3 separate regions of the Homo sapiens genome follow, and regions 1 and 3 are each linked to region 2. The links are contacts of gene promoters, found by promoter capture Hi-C in human tissues and cell types (Jung and others, 2019). All regions are on one chromosome and are shown on one strand. The core of a region is centred on a gene start or on the middle of the fragment in contact, and the rest is flanking DNA. Distances in the headings are between cores, read along the strand shown. Region 1 overlaps MED13L (mediator complex subunit 13L). Region 2 holds the start of TBX3 (T-box transcription factor 3). Region 3 overlaps LINC02463 (long intergenic non-protein coding RNA 2463).

Evidence for each region. The method cuts DNA at HindIII sites, captures the fragments that hold promoters and counts their contacts. A contact is called where the count stands out against the background at its distance.
Region 1: a fragment that was not itself captured here is called in contact with the fragment with the promoter of TBX3 in region 2 in 1 of the 25 tissues and cell types used here (small bowel).
Region 3: a fragment that was not itself captured here is called in contact with the fragment with the promoter of TBX3 in region 2 in 1 of the 25 tissues and cell types used here (lymphoblastoid cells).

Annotation. Positions count from the first base shown.
Region 1 is chr12:115,966,816-115,971,420 of GRCh38, reverse strand. It overlaps MED13L (mediator complex subunit 13L), which reads left to right. Exons shown (of 31, transcript NM_015335.5): 27 at 651-827; 28 at 2,324-2,481. Among named protein-coding and RNA genes, the nearest start is that of LINC02463, 83 kb to the right of the region's middle. The HindIII fragment of the contact is 6,936 bases long and covers 1-4,605 here.
Region 2 is chr12:114,682,012-114,686,904 of GRCh38, reverse strand. It overlaps TBX3 (T-box transcription factor 3), which reads left to right and starts at 2,730. Exons shown (of 7, transcript NM_005996.4): 1 at 2,730-4,093. The coding sequence starts at 3,705. TBX3-AS1 (TBX3 antisense RNA 1) reads right to left here and starts at 4,613. Exons shown (of 2, transcript NR_187552.1): 1 at 4,271-4,613. RefSeq lists enhancers at 1-55, 1-316, 56-908 and a promoter at 2,219-2,728. The HindIII fragment of the contact is 7,860 bases long and covers 92-4,893 here.
Region 3 is chr12:115,836,150-115,840,655 of GRCh38, reverse strand. All of the region lies in intron 2 of LINC02463 (long intergenic non-protein coding RNA 2463), which reads left to right. Among named protein-coding and RNA genes, the nearest start is that of LINC02463, 48 kb to the left of the region's middle. The HindIII fragment of the contact is 8,902 bases long and covers 1-4,506 here.

The DNA.
Region 1 (4,605 bases), core at 1,102-3,601, 1.3 Mb before region 2:
CCTTATAAAAGTCAACAGTATTGTGGTGTGAGAATGGGGTTACTTGTCATCAATCCAGTGAGAGACAGATGTCCTCATTAGACTATAGGTTACCTCTGTTGCCGCTACCACTTGGGCAGTTACGTAACTTCTTTGTGCTTTTGTCCTCATCTATAAATGGGGATCATAGTTCCTACCTTCAGATGCTGTGATGATCAAATGCGATGACTTGAATGAAGAGTTTAGCACAAATGCTGGCATGTAGTAAGCATTCATTAAGTGTTATAACATGTATTGATTTTATGGTCCTATCTCTATAGGATTGTTAACCGTTTAGAACAGTACTTTATAAATTGTGAACAACCAGAGGAGGAAAGAAAGTAGGGTGTTTATTTTTAGAAATACTTCTTACGTAAGTAATTAAAACATTTAGTGGACTTGGTCCAATTTTATCTTAACCTTTTCAGTATGAAATGAAACTTGGGTTATTATAGACAGCTATGTGCTCTGAGTCAGTTTCTTTGAAGATATTTAAACAATTGGACTCAATTTTGAATGTGTATTTATCATGGCATTTTCATCAGACTCATACCACTCCAGATCAGGCCCTCTGAAAACCTCATTTCTGGGGTTGTTCATTGATTGATATAATTCTATTTTTTTCTTTAAAGATGCTGTCACAATGGGCTCTGTTTTTGGCCGAAGTACTGCACTGAACATGCAGTCATCTCAGCTCAACACCCCTCAAGATGCTTCTTGTACACACATCTTGGTGTTCCCAACATCATCAACCATCCAGGTGGCTCCAGCCAACTACCCCAATGAAGATGGGTTTAGCCCCAACAATGGTGAGTAGAAGACCTGTATGGATAGTGCTCACCTTCATGCAGGGCAGAGCCGGAGTATGGAATCACTGGGCTGCCGCATGGCTTTTCTGTGTTGTAATAAACAACCCAGGAACTATAAAGAGGGGATAGAAGGTTTGAGAATCTATTTGGTCTTAAAGCTTTGATTTATCTGCACAATTAACAAGACCAAATAAATATTTTCCTTGTTTGGGCAATTAACTTTCTTCCATTTTTCATTAAAGGCAAAAAATAATACCTGCGTGGCACTGTTCTGTACTTAGGTGCCACTCTTTCAATAAATATTTGCTGATGTGATTTGAAATGTGTGAAGTACTAAGCAATATGAAGAGAGCACCTTCCTTTAGCTAGTCTATGGCAATCTAATTTGCTATAGAGAAACCCTTATTTGATTATTCTTAATGGAAATTTTTGAATAGCTGTTAAGGTATTTGTTTAAAAAAATGATTATTTATAAACTATAAAACACTCAACACAGCATCCATTTGCATTGTTTTTGAAGAAATTATAACACCTACCAGTGTTTATTTATGGTAAATGGGATGAGGAAAAGGATACCAAATTTTATATCTGGTATGATTACAATAGAATAACAAATATATGAGAAAATAAAAGAATCATAGAAAAAAATGATCATGGTGATTGGGTTCTAGGTGATGGTTTTCACTTTTTATACTTTTCTTTACAAATTTTCTGCTGTGAGTGTACCTTACTTTTATAATGTTGGGGAGGATTTCTTAATGAAAATGCTGGGCCAGGCACGGTGGCTTATGCCTGTAATCCTAGCACTTTGGGAGGCTGAGGCAGGCGGATCCCTTGAGGTCAGGAATTTGAGACTAGCCTGGCCAACGTGGTGAAACCCCATCTCTATGAAAAATACAAAAATTAGCCAGAAATCACTTGAACCCAGGAGGCAGAGGTTGCAGTGAGCCGAGATCGTGCCACTGCACTCCAGCCTGGGCAACAGAGGGAGACTCCATCTCAAAAAAAAAAAAAGAGAGAAAACATTGTGCTTTGATTTGCTTTTGGAATAGGTCTCCATTTTCAGGGCAAGTTCACACTCATTAACATGCATTCATTCAGCCTCTGGTGTTTTAGATGCTAAGTGGATACATAGATGGAGTCTACTGTGTTTTTGAATGGTGTCAATTTTAATGATTAAATTGTTGCTTTAGCTCTTTTACCATACTTTTATGTGTCTTTGGAGGCTATGCAGAGTGTAGGTTTTTATGTTATATTCTTTATTGCATTCTGTTAATACTGTACATAAGGAGATCATTGGAGAGAGTACAAAATGAAAGAATAATTTGTAATAGCTTGCACTCAGTAGGTCCTAACTGAATCTAAGTTATTAACAGTGTGTGTCCATAATAGCCATATGCCAACAAAACATGACATAGGTTAGGTTGGATTATTATGATATTGATATGTGGACTATCTTTTTAATTTTTGTGCTTTTTTTCCCCCCTTCCCTCTAGATGATATGTTTGTTGACCTTCCATTCCCAGATGATATGGACAATGATATTGGCATATTAATGACTGGGAACCTCCATTCCTCTCCCAACTCTTCCCCAGTACCCTCCCCAGGCTCTCCTTCTGGAATTGGTGTGGGCTCTCACTTCCAGCATAGTCGGGTAAGGATGATTTGGAGTACGTTGTTTAAGACAACCATAGCCTTTAGGAAGATAATCCACTGGACATCTGATCATCTTGTTCCTACTTGCACAGTTCTTGATGGTCTGGGTCCTTGGTACAAGAGAAATAAGTGTGGGAAACTGACTATGGTTCCATTTTGAATAGAAGGCAGGAATTTGAAATAAATATGTTATTATTTCTGATGAATAAGTTTTATCAGAAGAATAGTCCTATTACAGATGCAAGGGTTTTTAATGCATTGTTTTCTTAGCAAAAATTAGTTCTAGTTGCTTGCTGCTTCCCAGTTTTTTAATGGTTTTATTTTTTGCCAAAATAGTGGCTTTTAAGAGATTAGTACAACAACCGTACTTACTCAACATGCAGAGTAATTGTGCTGATTGAAGAACACGTTGGTGATGGCTTGTTCTGAAAGGAGCCTGCCGTGCTCTTTGCGTGTCCTGGCTTAGTCATTTTGCAGCCTTCTTCTTTCTAGCCGACCTGCAGGAATGGCAAGAGCCGCCAGGAGATTGATTTTACAGATGTGTCCAGGTTAACGCCAGAGTATTAAGGAAAAAACCAGAGCTTACAACTGGTTTCATCTTTAAATATCTCAGGGATATTGGAGGTGGATGAACAACAGAAGATTTAAGAGTTAGAGGGTTCTGCCACAGCTTGTGGTAACTTTGCTTCAGTTAGATGATTCCTGCTGCATCACTGTATTGTACTGTTTATTTAAAATGTTATGAGACTGGGGAGTTAAGACTTTGAAAAATAGCTATGTCTGGTATCTTAGACTGAACAAGCATAAGCAGCCTGCTCACACTCATTTATTTAGACACAAAGATGGACATAAAGGACTTCAGTTTTCATCGGGGGGGGGGGGGGACTTTTATTCCCAGCACTGAATTTATTAGACGCTGGAGAGAAAAAAGGTTTATAGCTTAGATTAGTCACAGAGCAGGTAAGACCAGAGGAGGGCATCTCAGACTGTTCCCATGTTATACCTGCCCCTATTACCCTCTTCTGGAAGGAAGGGGTTTTAAGGGTCTTTGTTTCCTTTGCAGTACTTACCAGTTAATGATAATTTGTTCATGGGAAACGGTTGTGATAGGAACGAAAAACACAAATGTTACATTGTCTATTTTTTTAAAGTTGGGTTTAATTTGAATTCTGGAGGCAAGTAGCATAGCAGCTAAGAATGCATGCCCCACAGTCTGTTAAAGACAACTTTGAATTGCAGCTCTGGGCCTACGGGCTTTGTGACCTTGGACAAGCTAACTTCACCTCTCTTAGCCTGAGTTACCTTATCTGTGAAATGGAATAATAGCAACTACCTCCCAGTACCTGTTTTTGTAATTCAGTTTATGCATTAACAAAGAATTGGTTATTGAAGTTGTAATGTTAGTTGTGTAAGAAACAGAGGTATGCTGTATTTCTCCCTTTTTTTGGAGCCTTAAGCACTAAAGTCTTTAATTCAATGCCATGATTTAGACAGTGCTGTTCTGAAGCTAGCCAGGTGGCCTTTTTCAATCCTGAGCACCTGCAGCCAGGTGACCTCCAAGAGGCTTTCAGCATTTCCTTTTTCTGAACCATTAAACATTCTTTGATATCCAGTTAAGACATTACAGCAGGGAAGAGAATGCGTTCAAAGTGGCAGTAAATTTTTTATTTTTTTAACCAACTCAGAATTGATACAGTTTGATGTAGTAGCTGCAGATTATTTTTTCCTTCCAAACAGAAGGTTTTTTTTTTTTTTTTTTTTTTTTTTGAGACAGAGTCTCACTCTGTTGCTCAAGCTAGAGTGCAGTGGCATGATCTTGGCTCACTGCAACCTTTGCCTCCTGGGTTCAAGGGATTCTCCTGCCTCAGCCTCCTGAGTAGCTGGGATTACAGGCGTGCACTACTGTGCCTGGCTAATTTTTGTATTTTTAGTAGAGTGGGGTTTCACCATGTTCGCCAGGCAGGTCTCGAAATTCTGACCTCAAGTGATCTGTCCGCCTCAGCCTCACAAAGTGCTGGGATTACAGGTGTGAGCCACCGCACCCAGCATAAACAGAGACTTTTAAAAACAAATGCATTACTTATTGCTTGCATGAAAGGTACATTTTCAATTGATGAAGCTA
Region 2 (4,893 bases), core at 1,481-3,980:
GGAGATGGGGGTCAGAAGTAGCGATCTGGGGTGATCACAGGGTTAAGTTAGAGCTATGGGCAAAAAATAGGCAATTGAGGGAGGAGGACAGTGTGAGGGGCAGAACTCCCTCTCAGTCCACCCGCGGAGCCAAAAACAAATCTAGACATTTTTAAGTAAAATCCGCAAGCTCCCCTCCCATTTCCAAAGCTGACAGCTGGCCAGAATGCAGAGGAATGTCTCTCTGCTGTGCGTGGGACGCTTGGGGGCACCGAGTGGGTGAGGAGGAGGTCGGTCACAGTGTGGTTGTAGAACTACTTTGCTTCCACCCCAAGTAGTGGGGCAGAGATTGGCCTGCGAGGGCAGGCAGGCAAAACCAGATCGCTGGGATTTGGGGCCGCTCTTGAAAGAGCAGCGAAGGGGCCCCAGGCCCCGGAGGCGAGCAGTCTGGGGGAGGGGGTGCACTTTTTTTTTCTATTTCTTTCTTTTCTTTTCTTTTTCTTTTTTTTGGGGCGGGGGTCCCCAGAGACTCATGAAACCCTGCAGTGACTTCCGTGTTCTGTGTAAGGCGGGAAATGGCCTGGCCTTTCGCACCCTTCAGGTGGGGAGGAGGGGATGCGGGAGGGGGTGTTATGAGCCAACACTCTGGGGCACCACCACCTCGTAATTTTCCCTCTCTCTCCTTTCTCTATTTTAACCACTGGCAGAGACAGAGAGGACGCCAGAGAAAGACAGACTGAAAGGGAAAGAAAGGGGCGAGATGGCGAGCCAGACGGAGTTCGCAGAACCACACTATTCTCTCTGGTGACTTCAGGGAATTCTCAACGCTGGCGCCAAGCTCTCTTAACCATGTGCGTCAAAAATGCGAGGCTGGAGAAGCCTGTCGCCTCAAAAGATCCTCCCCTATCTCAGCGTGGTTGGCCCACAAGAGCACTTCATTTTCACCCTTCCCTTGGTGCCACGTTGGGGTTTCGGGGTTGCTGGGGGTTGCGCGGGTGCACAAGGCAAAATGCGAGAGAGGCCTGTGCTGGCCTACAGAGACACACACATCCAAAGCCCTGAGTCTCTTAAACCCCTAAGCCCCCAGATCAGCCCTTTCTCCGTTCCCTTTCCATCGAAGAAGCTTTCATCTCAGGAAAGATAAAAGAACATTGTTTTCAAGATTTCCCTCCATCTAAGCAAGGATGGTCCAAGACATTGGCCCCCAGAATCAAGAACTGTGGGCTTAGGCGAATCCTCTGACCCCGACCGGGCGCTGCGGTAACAGAGTTGGTAATTCGGCGATTGGTAAGATCCGGTCGTTTCCCTCCCGTCCGCCTAAGAGGAGGCCCCCACCCTACCCGTACTAAAAACAGTCAACTCGCCTCTGAGGTGGGGGCGTTTCACGGTTTGTTTTACAAATTCACCCTCCCTCCCCGACTTCTGGCCAGATTAAGTCCCCGGGGTGGAGAAAGAACTGAGGCACCGAGAGATAAGTGCGATGCCTAGAGAAGATACCAGGCTGGCGCGCCTCCCCCAACCCAATCGCCCACCCCTTACCCTGTGCTGTGCACCCAGCCGGGCCTCGAGGTGAGGGCAGCGGCTTGGAGGGGACAGGCTCAGAACCCAGTCTCTCGCTGTGCTCGCTTTGTCCAGATCCTCCATTCTCTTCTCTACACCCACACCCACATCCAGGTGGAATATGGGGGCCCGCATGCAAATGAAAGACGAGATCCAAAAGGGCTGGTAAATGCATTTCATAAAAATCCCAAATCCATCTTCCCCAGGAGCTCAGGCAGGGCCAGCCGCGCAGGCTGTGTACGTGTTTGTGTGTACGTGTTTTTCGGTGTGTGTTTCAGTCCCAGTGTGTTGGCGCGTGTTCGAGTACAGATACACCGGGGGTGTTTGGGTACCCGCACATGGCTGCGGGTGGGGCGCAGTGGAGAGGAAGCCCACACATGCGTGTGCTGAGATATGGCCGCATCCTTGTGCTCCCCCAGCCCAGACGCAGGGGAGACCAGCACCGAGACACCCGAGCTCGGGAGCCCTTCAGCGGCGGCCGGGCGGAGCTTGGCTCCACGTGGGGCTGGAGAGCACGCAAGCCTGGAGTCTCGGCGCTCGCTTCTCGGCTGCCGCCGGCTTTTGTAGAACCGAGTGGCCGGATGGCAGCTCGCGGGGAGGCTCGGCCACCCGCCCGGCTCGCCCGGGGCGGGGAGAAGAAGGAGAGCTGGAGAGAGAACCGGCCGCGGCGGTCGGAGAGGCGAGCGGAGTGCAAGAGAGGCGAGCGCCCCTGCCCGGCGCCCGGGCGCGCTCTCCGCCTTCCCCGCCCGGCTCGCCTGCTCGCTGGCTCCCTCCCTCTCTCCCTCCCCCTTCCTCCTTGGCCCTGCCTCCTCCCTCGATCCCCGGCTGGATGACTGAGGCATTTCAGACGTGGGCTGAACCAGAGCGAGCGAGCGAGCTCAGGGGCTGCAGCGATCTCTCGATAAGCCACCTAGAGGCGACTCTGTGCGCGCGCGCTCCCCAGTGGCTCCCGCCCGCCCTCTGATCATGTTGACATATTCACAGGACAGGCAGTAGTACCGATGCGGCGCTGCGACGTTACAGTTTCCGACACCTTCTTTTTATAACTCAGCTCTATCCCCCAGCACTCGACCTGTGAAAACCACGCCTATGCAGCAACACAATTGGTCCGAAAGCGTCAAAGAGCCAATCAAGAGGCCTCCGGCTCCCCGCAGCCCACAGCGCAGCCCGACCTTCTAGAGCCGCCGAGCAGACGCCCGGTGAATTCTAGAGGCGGCGGAGGGTGGCGAGGAGCTCTCGCTTTCTCTCGCTCCCTCCCTCTCCGACTCCGTCTCTCTCTCTCTCTCTCTCTCTCCCCTCCCTCTCTTTCCCTCTGTTCCATTTTTTCCCCCTCTAAATCCTCCCTGCCCTGCGCGCCTGGACACAGATTTAGGAAGCGAATTCGCTCACGTTTTAGGACAAGGAAGAGAGAGAGGCACGGGAGAAGAGCCCAGCAAGATTTGGATTGAAACCGAGACACCCTCCGGAGGCTCGGAGCAGAGGAAGGAGGAGGAGGGCGGCGAACGGAAGCCAGTTTGCAATTCAAGTTTTGATAGCGCTGGTAGAAGGGGGTTTAAATCAGATTTTTTTTTTTTTAAAGGAGAGAGACTTTTTCCGCTCTCTCGCTCCCTGTTAAAGCCGGGTCTAGCACAGCTGCAGACGCCACCAGCGAGAAAGAGGGAGAGGAAGACAGATAGGGGGCGGGGGAAGAAGAAAAAGAAAGGTAAAAAGTCTTCTAGGAGAACCTTTCACATTTGCAACAAAAGACCTAGGGGCTGGAGAGAGATTCCTGGGACGCAGGGCTGGAGTGTCTATTTCGAGCTCAGCGGCAGGGCTCGGGCGCGAGTCGAGACCCTGCTCGCTCCTCTCGCTTCTGAAACCGACGTTCAGGAGCGGCTTTTTAAAAACGCAAGGCACAAGGACGGTCACCCGCGCGACTATGTTTGCTGATTTTTCGCCTTGCCCTCTTTAAAAGCGGCCTCCCATTCTCCAAAAGACACTTCCCCTCCTCCCTTTGAAGTGCATTAGTTGTGATTTCTGCCTCCTTTTCTTTTTTCTTTCTTTTTTGTTTTGCTTTTTCCCCCCTTTTGAATTATGTGCTGCTGTTAAACAACAACAAAAAAACAACAAAACACAGCAGCTGCGGACTTGTCCCCGGCTGGAGCCCAGCGCCCCGCCTGGAGTGGATGAGCCTCTCCATGAGAGATCCGGTCATTCCTGGGACAAGCATGGCCTACCATCCGTTCCTACCTCACCGGGCGCCGGACTTCGCCATGAGCGCGGTGCTGGGTCACCAGCCGCCGTTCTTCCCCGCGCTGACGCTGCCTCCCAACGGCGCGGCGGCGCTCTCGCTGCCGGGCGCCCTGGCCAAGCCGATCATGGATCAATTGGTGGGGGCGGCCGAGACCGGCATCCCGTTCTCCTCCCTGGGGCCCCAGGCGCATCTGAGGCCTTTGAAGACCATGGAGCCCGAAGAAGAGGTGGAGGACGACCCCAAGGTGCACCTGGAGGCTAAAGAACTTTGGGATCAGTTTCACAAGCGGGGCACCGAGATGGTCATTACCAAGTCGGGAAGGTAAGCAGTGGGGGCCTCCTCCCCTAAGCTGTTGGAGAGTTTTTTCCTCCCTTTATTTCTCTGCTCCCAGAACAGTCGGTTGGTCGGTTATTACGGCTTGGACGAAAAGTTAGTTCCCCTAGAAATGTATGCACAGACTTCCAGGCCCTGCCCCGGTGGCAGGAAATTTCAGCTTACCTGGGCATCTGCATGGGTCTTGCATTTGGTCTGCATCCTGGGTTCCCTCCCGAACAGACAGAATTTTTCAGTGGAGCACAGACATCCCTGCAGGGAGCAGGAAAGAAAAAAAAAAAAGGCACTCTACTGCAAGAAACTCACTCTTCAAACCCTCCTGGAACATCCTTATTTCTTTGTTGATGTTGTGTTGTCTGTTTTATTTTGTTCTCAGAGAGAAAAACTTAAAGCCCTTTCCTTTTGTGTGGGTATTGGGAGGCCTGACACCATTCCCCGGCCCTTTCTGCCCTCCAGTCTAGCCTCTGGGTCTAAAGGGGCCTGCTGCTGCCCTGGTCAGAGAGAAATCGAAGGGCATTTTGGTTTGTTTGCCCACACTACTTCACGTGTCTGTAACCCAAGGGCGAGTTCAGCAGGCAATTTTGCATAATTTAAGATTATGTTTGCAGACTTAAGGAGCCAGTGAGGAGACACACACCTTTTTTTTAATGTGTGAATATTATCAACCATATTTTACATAATGTTTAAAGGTCCTTGCCTGACCAAAACCTGCCTGGAAGAGAAGATCCTGTAATAGTCATTTAAAATCACTGATTTTTTTTTTGTAATAGCATTGAAGCCTGTAAAGG
Region 3 (4,506 bases), core at 748-3,247, 1.2 Mb before region 2:
AAAAAAAAAAACCAGTGTGCAAGACTACAATATGTTCTAAGAAGCAGCGACTGAACTTTGATGCAGGTCCAGCACTTGTACCAGGCAGGCAAATTTGGCAAACACTCGGCAATAGCCTTAGTGGAGCTGCAGACACCCTTGGTCCAGCTTGAGGGCAGATCACCAAACCGGATCACGTCCCAGTAAGTCCTAACTAAAGATGCTCCCATCGGACTCACATACAGAGTATTTACTCAAGGAGTGTTTGCTGAACACCAACTCAGCGCCGGGCACGCGGGCTCGGTGGTGGAGATGACATCATTCCGCCTGGGTGGCTGTGCTGCCTGGGAGATAACTCATAGGCCATATGCACAGCTTGGGAGCACAGGAAGTCCTTTTACAGAACTTTCCACATTTTAGGAGTGAAGGATGATAGGAATGGGGCTTTGAAGCCCTGAGCCCTTAATAGGCAGAATCCTACATGGTGTTTACTTCACCCTCAGGCACCCCAGCCTCACTTAGCAGTGTTGCAATTAACACAATACCACTGTCAGAATAACCTCTAACCACAGCCCCGGCTACATCGCTCACCTCCTTGGTGGCTTCTCTCTACTCGTAGGATAAACCCAAGCTCCTTAGCCCTGAGGACTCCTTACAGGGTCCTCCCCAGCTGGGCACCCACCCACCCTCACTGCTATGCTCTGAATGTTTGCGCCCCATCCCTAATTTCTATGTTGAAATCCTTACCCTCAAGGTGATGGTATTAGGAGGTGAAGCTTTTGGGAGGTGATTCAGTCATGGAGGTAGAGCCTTCTTGAAAGGGATAAGTGCCTATGAAAAATGGATTCCCAGGAGGTGCCTTGTTCCTTCCACCACGTGAGGACACAGTGAGAAGGCGCCATCCACAAGCCAGAAAGCGGTCCTCACCAGACACCAAATCTGCCCTCATCTTGGACTTCCCAGACTCCAGAACTGTGAGAAGTAAATTCTTTTAGCCAGGTATGGCGGCTCATGCCTGTAATCCTTGCACTTTGGGAGGCCAAGGTGGGTGGATCAGCTGAGGTCAAGAGTTCGAGACCAGCCTGGCCAACATGGTAAAACCCCGTCTCTACTAAAAATACAAAAATTAGCCAGGCGTTATGGCTCATGCCTGTGGTCCCAGCTACTTGGGAGGCTGAGGCAGGAGAATTGCCTGAACCTGGGAGGCAGAGGTTGCAGTGAGCTGAGATCATGCCACTGCACTCCAGCCTGGGCAACAGAGTGAGACTCAGTCTCAAAAATAAATAAATTCTTTTTCTTTATAAGCTACTCAGTCTGAGGTATTTTGTTATAGCAGCTCAAATGGACTAGTTGGAAAATCTCTCTTAGCTTCATCCCTCTTTTCCACTCCTAGCAGCTAGAGTTTCTCTAATCTCCTCAAAGGCTGCATTTTCTCTCTCTCCTCTTAACCCTCTCCTTGGCTAGTCCCTCTGCCTTGAGCACTGTTCCCTCCCATCCTTTGCCTAGCCAACTCCAATCATCTTTAGGCTTCAGCATAAATCTCACTTCCTCCTGGAAGCCTTCCATGATACCTCCATGCTAGGTCGTCCTCCTGTGCCCTCCAGATGGCCCTGAGCTCTGTCTTTTCCAGAACTCATCACTTTGAATTATACCTGCCTCATCCCTGTCTGTCTTCCAGGAAGACTGGAGTCTCCTGAAGGTTGAAGCAGAGTCTGATTTGCTCTCGGTTGCATCTGCAGTGCCTGTATTAGTTTCCCAGAGCTGCAGTAATTAAATATCAAAAACTGGGTAGCTTAAAACCACATAAATTTATTCTCTTACAGTTCAGGAAGCCAGAAGTCCAAAACCAAGATGTCAACAGCATTAGTTTGTTTTGTGGAGCTCAGAGGGAAAATTTGTTCCATGCCTCGTCCTCATCCTCAGCTTCTTGGGAAGTTCTTGGTGTTTGTGTTTTTTTTTTTTTTTTTTTTTTGCTTGCAACAGCATCACTCCACTCTCTGCCTCTGTTTTCCCATGGTCCCTGCCCTGTGTGCCTTTCTCTGTCTTCTTTTAAGGACAACAATCATTGGACTTAGAGCCCACCCTAATCCAATATGACTTTATATTAACTGGATTATATCTGCAAAGACACTATTTCCAAATAATTTCACATTCATAAGTGCTGAGGGTTAGGACTTGAACATATCTTTTCAGGGGATAATATTTAACTCACAACACTGTCTACTTCATCTGTTCATTGTAAATATTTGATGAATGAATGACTGAATGCAGAAAGAAACAAACAGGTTGCCTAGGAGTCCCTCTTTTTTGAGGAAATGTTGAATCTGTGTTGTCACATAAAAGAAAGAATGTAGAACAGGAAAAAGAAATGTACAAGAGAATTTAGATTAAAGCACGCATTCACACACACACACACACACACACACACACACACACACACACACCCTTGCCAAGCGCAGCTGTGGGCTGGACAGGGGAGTGGTGGCCCTGGGCGGGATGCTGGGTAGCCATTCTCCCCCATCCCTTCCGCCCTCTACCTGTCCACCAGGGCCACGCTGTGGTGGGGCCCAGGCACCATTTTATTAGTTGTGATCCACTGTGGTTAATTCTCTTAATCTAGACTTACGTGCCCATAAAGCCCAGACCTCAGGTATTGGATTTCCCTGATCAAAGGGCGACATGTGGGGGGCGCTGCCCAGGAGGGCTCAGCAAGGCTCGTAAACATGGCCCGGGGGACACACACACACACACACACACACACACACACACACACACACTCCAAAAGATGGGCCGATCAATGGCTGGGGTGATCCCGTGTGAAATATGACTGCCGCTTAAATGCAGCTTCTGGGATTTATGGCCGGGTATTAATCTACCCTGCTTAATGCCTTGACCTCTGCCCTCCAGCAATTCAGGGGACGGTGCCAGTGAGGCCAGAAGCTAATTCCATGGATTAAAGCAGAAGGAGCCCCCAGCATTTGGAAGTGTCAGGGACAGTTTAAGCGCTAGCAAAGTGTCCCAGCTCTCCCTATTAATGGTGGCTGGGAATGGTTGGGTTTTTCAAGCAGGCAACACACAGAAGGATCGTAGAGGAAAGGACCTTTTGGTAAATGCAATCAGTTTCCTTCTCTAGTCCAGGCCTGTATGTACTTAATTCCTCTCTCTTCCTAGCCTCCAGGACTCTGCACATCAATTTCTTCCTAGAGTACACTTTGCTTTGTGCATAGTCAGGTTGCACCTTAAATGCCACCTCCTCCAGGGAGCCTTCCTAGCCCCTATGCCTTGTTAATGCTGCTCACTTGACCCTGAATAGCCTCAGAATTGTCACTCATTTTTCTAGTCTTATTCATCCACCAAATTAAACTTCTGAGGGCAGGAACTGAGTTGTCACCTAAACCTCCTAGAGAGCCAAACTCATTGTAAAAACTCAACCAATATTTATTATACGAGTGAATCAAAAGAATTCAAGCAACAACTAAGACTACAGTTGATTTTTTTTTTTTTGAGACAGGGTCTTGCTCTGCTGTCCAGGCTGGAGTGCAGTGGCTCTATCACAGCTCACTGCAGCCTCGACCTGACAGGGTCAAGCAATCCTACCACCCTCAAGCAGCTGGGAGTACAAACATTCACCGTCAGGCCTGGCTAATTTTTAAAATTTATTTGTAGAAATGGGGTCTTGCTATGTTGCCCAGGCTGGTCTTGAATTCCTGGACTCAAGCAATCCTCCTGCGTTGGCTTCCCAAAGTGCTGGGATTACAGGTATGAGCCACTGTGCCCAGCCCAGTTGATGGCTTTGAGGGATAAAATACTTGCATTTGGTGTGTTAAGACTTATGACCATACATGTCCTCATCCTCCCTCTGAGCCTCAGTTTCCTCTTTAGTAAGACAGGACTAAGAGTAGTACTAATTACACACCACCATCATTTGTTCAGTTATTCCACAGGTGTTTATTGAGCACTTTGTATGTGCAGGTGCTGATCCAGAATGGGGACAGAGCAATAAACAAAACAGACAAAACCCTTGTCCTGGTGGACAATGACATTCTGGTTGAGGGGTGACAGAAAATATATGAGCCAGTGTTAAGTGGTGAGGAAGAACAACAACAACAAAAAACAGAATTGGGGAATGAAGATTTAGGTGGAGAGTTTGGGATTTTGGATAGGTGGCTAGGGAAAGTCTCATTGACAAGGTAGTAGCTTTTGTTATTTTTGTTTGTTTTTATTGTTATGGATCTTAATATTTAATTTTTTAAAATTTTAATTATGGATACATAATAGTTGTACATATTTATGGGGTACATGTAATGTCTTGATACAGGCATACAATGTGTGGTGATCAGTTATTTCTTTGTGTTAAGAACATTCTATTCTTTTAGTTATTTAAAAATATCCAATAAATTATTAGCTATAGTCACCATATTATGCTACTAAATACCAGATCTCTCTCTCTCTCTCTCTCTCTCTTTCTCTCTTTCTCTCTTTCTCTCTCTCTCTGATGGAATCTCACTCTGTCACCAGGCTGGAGTG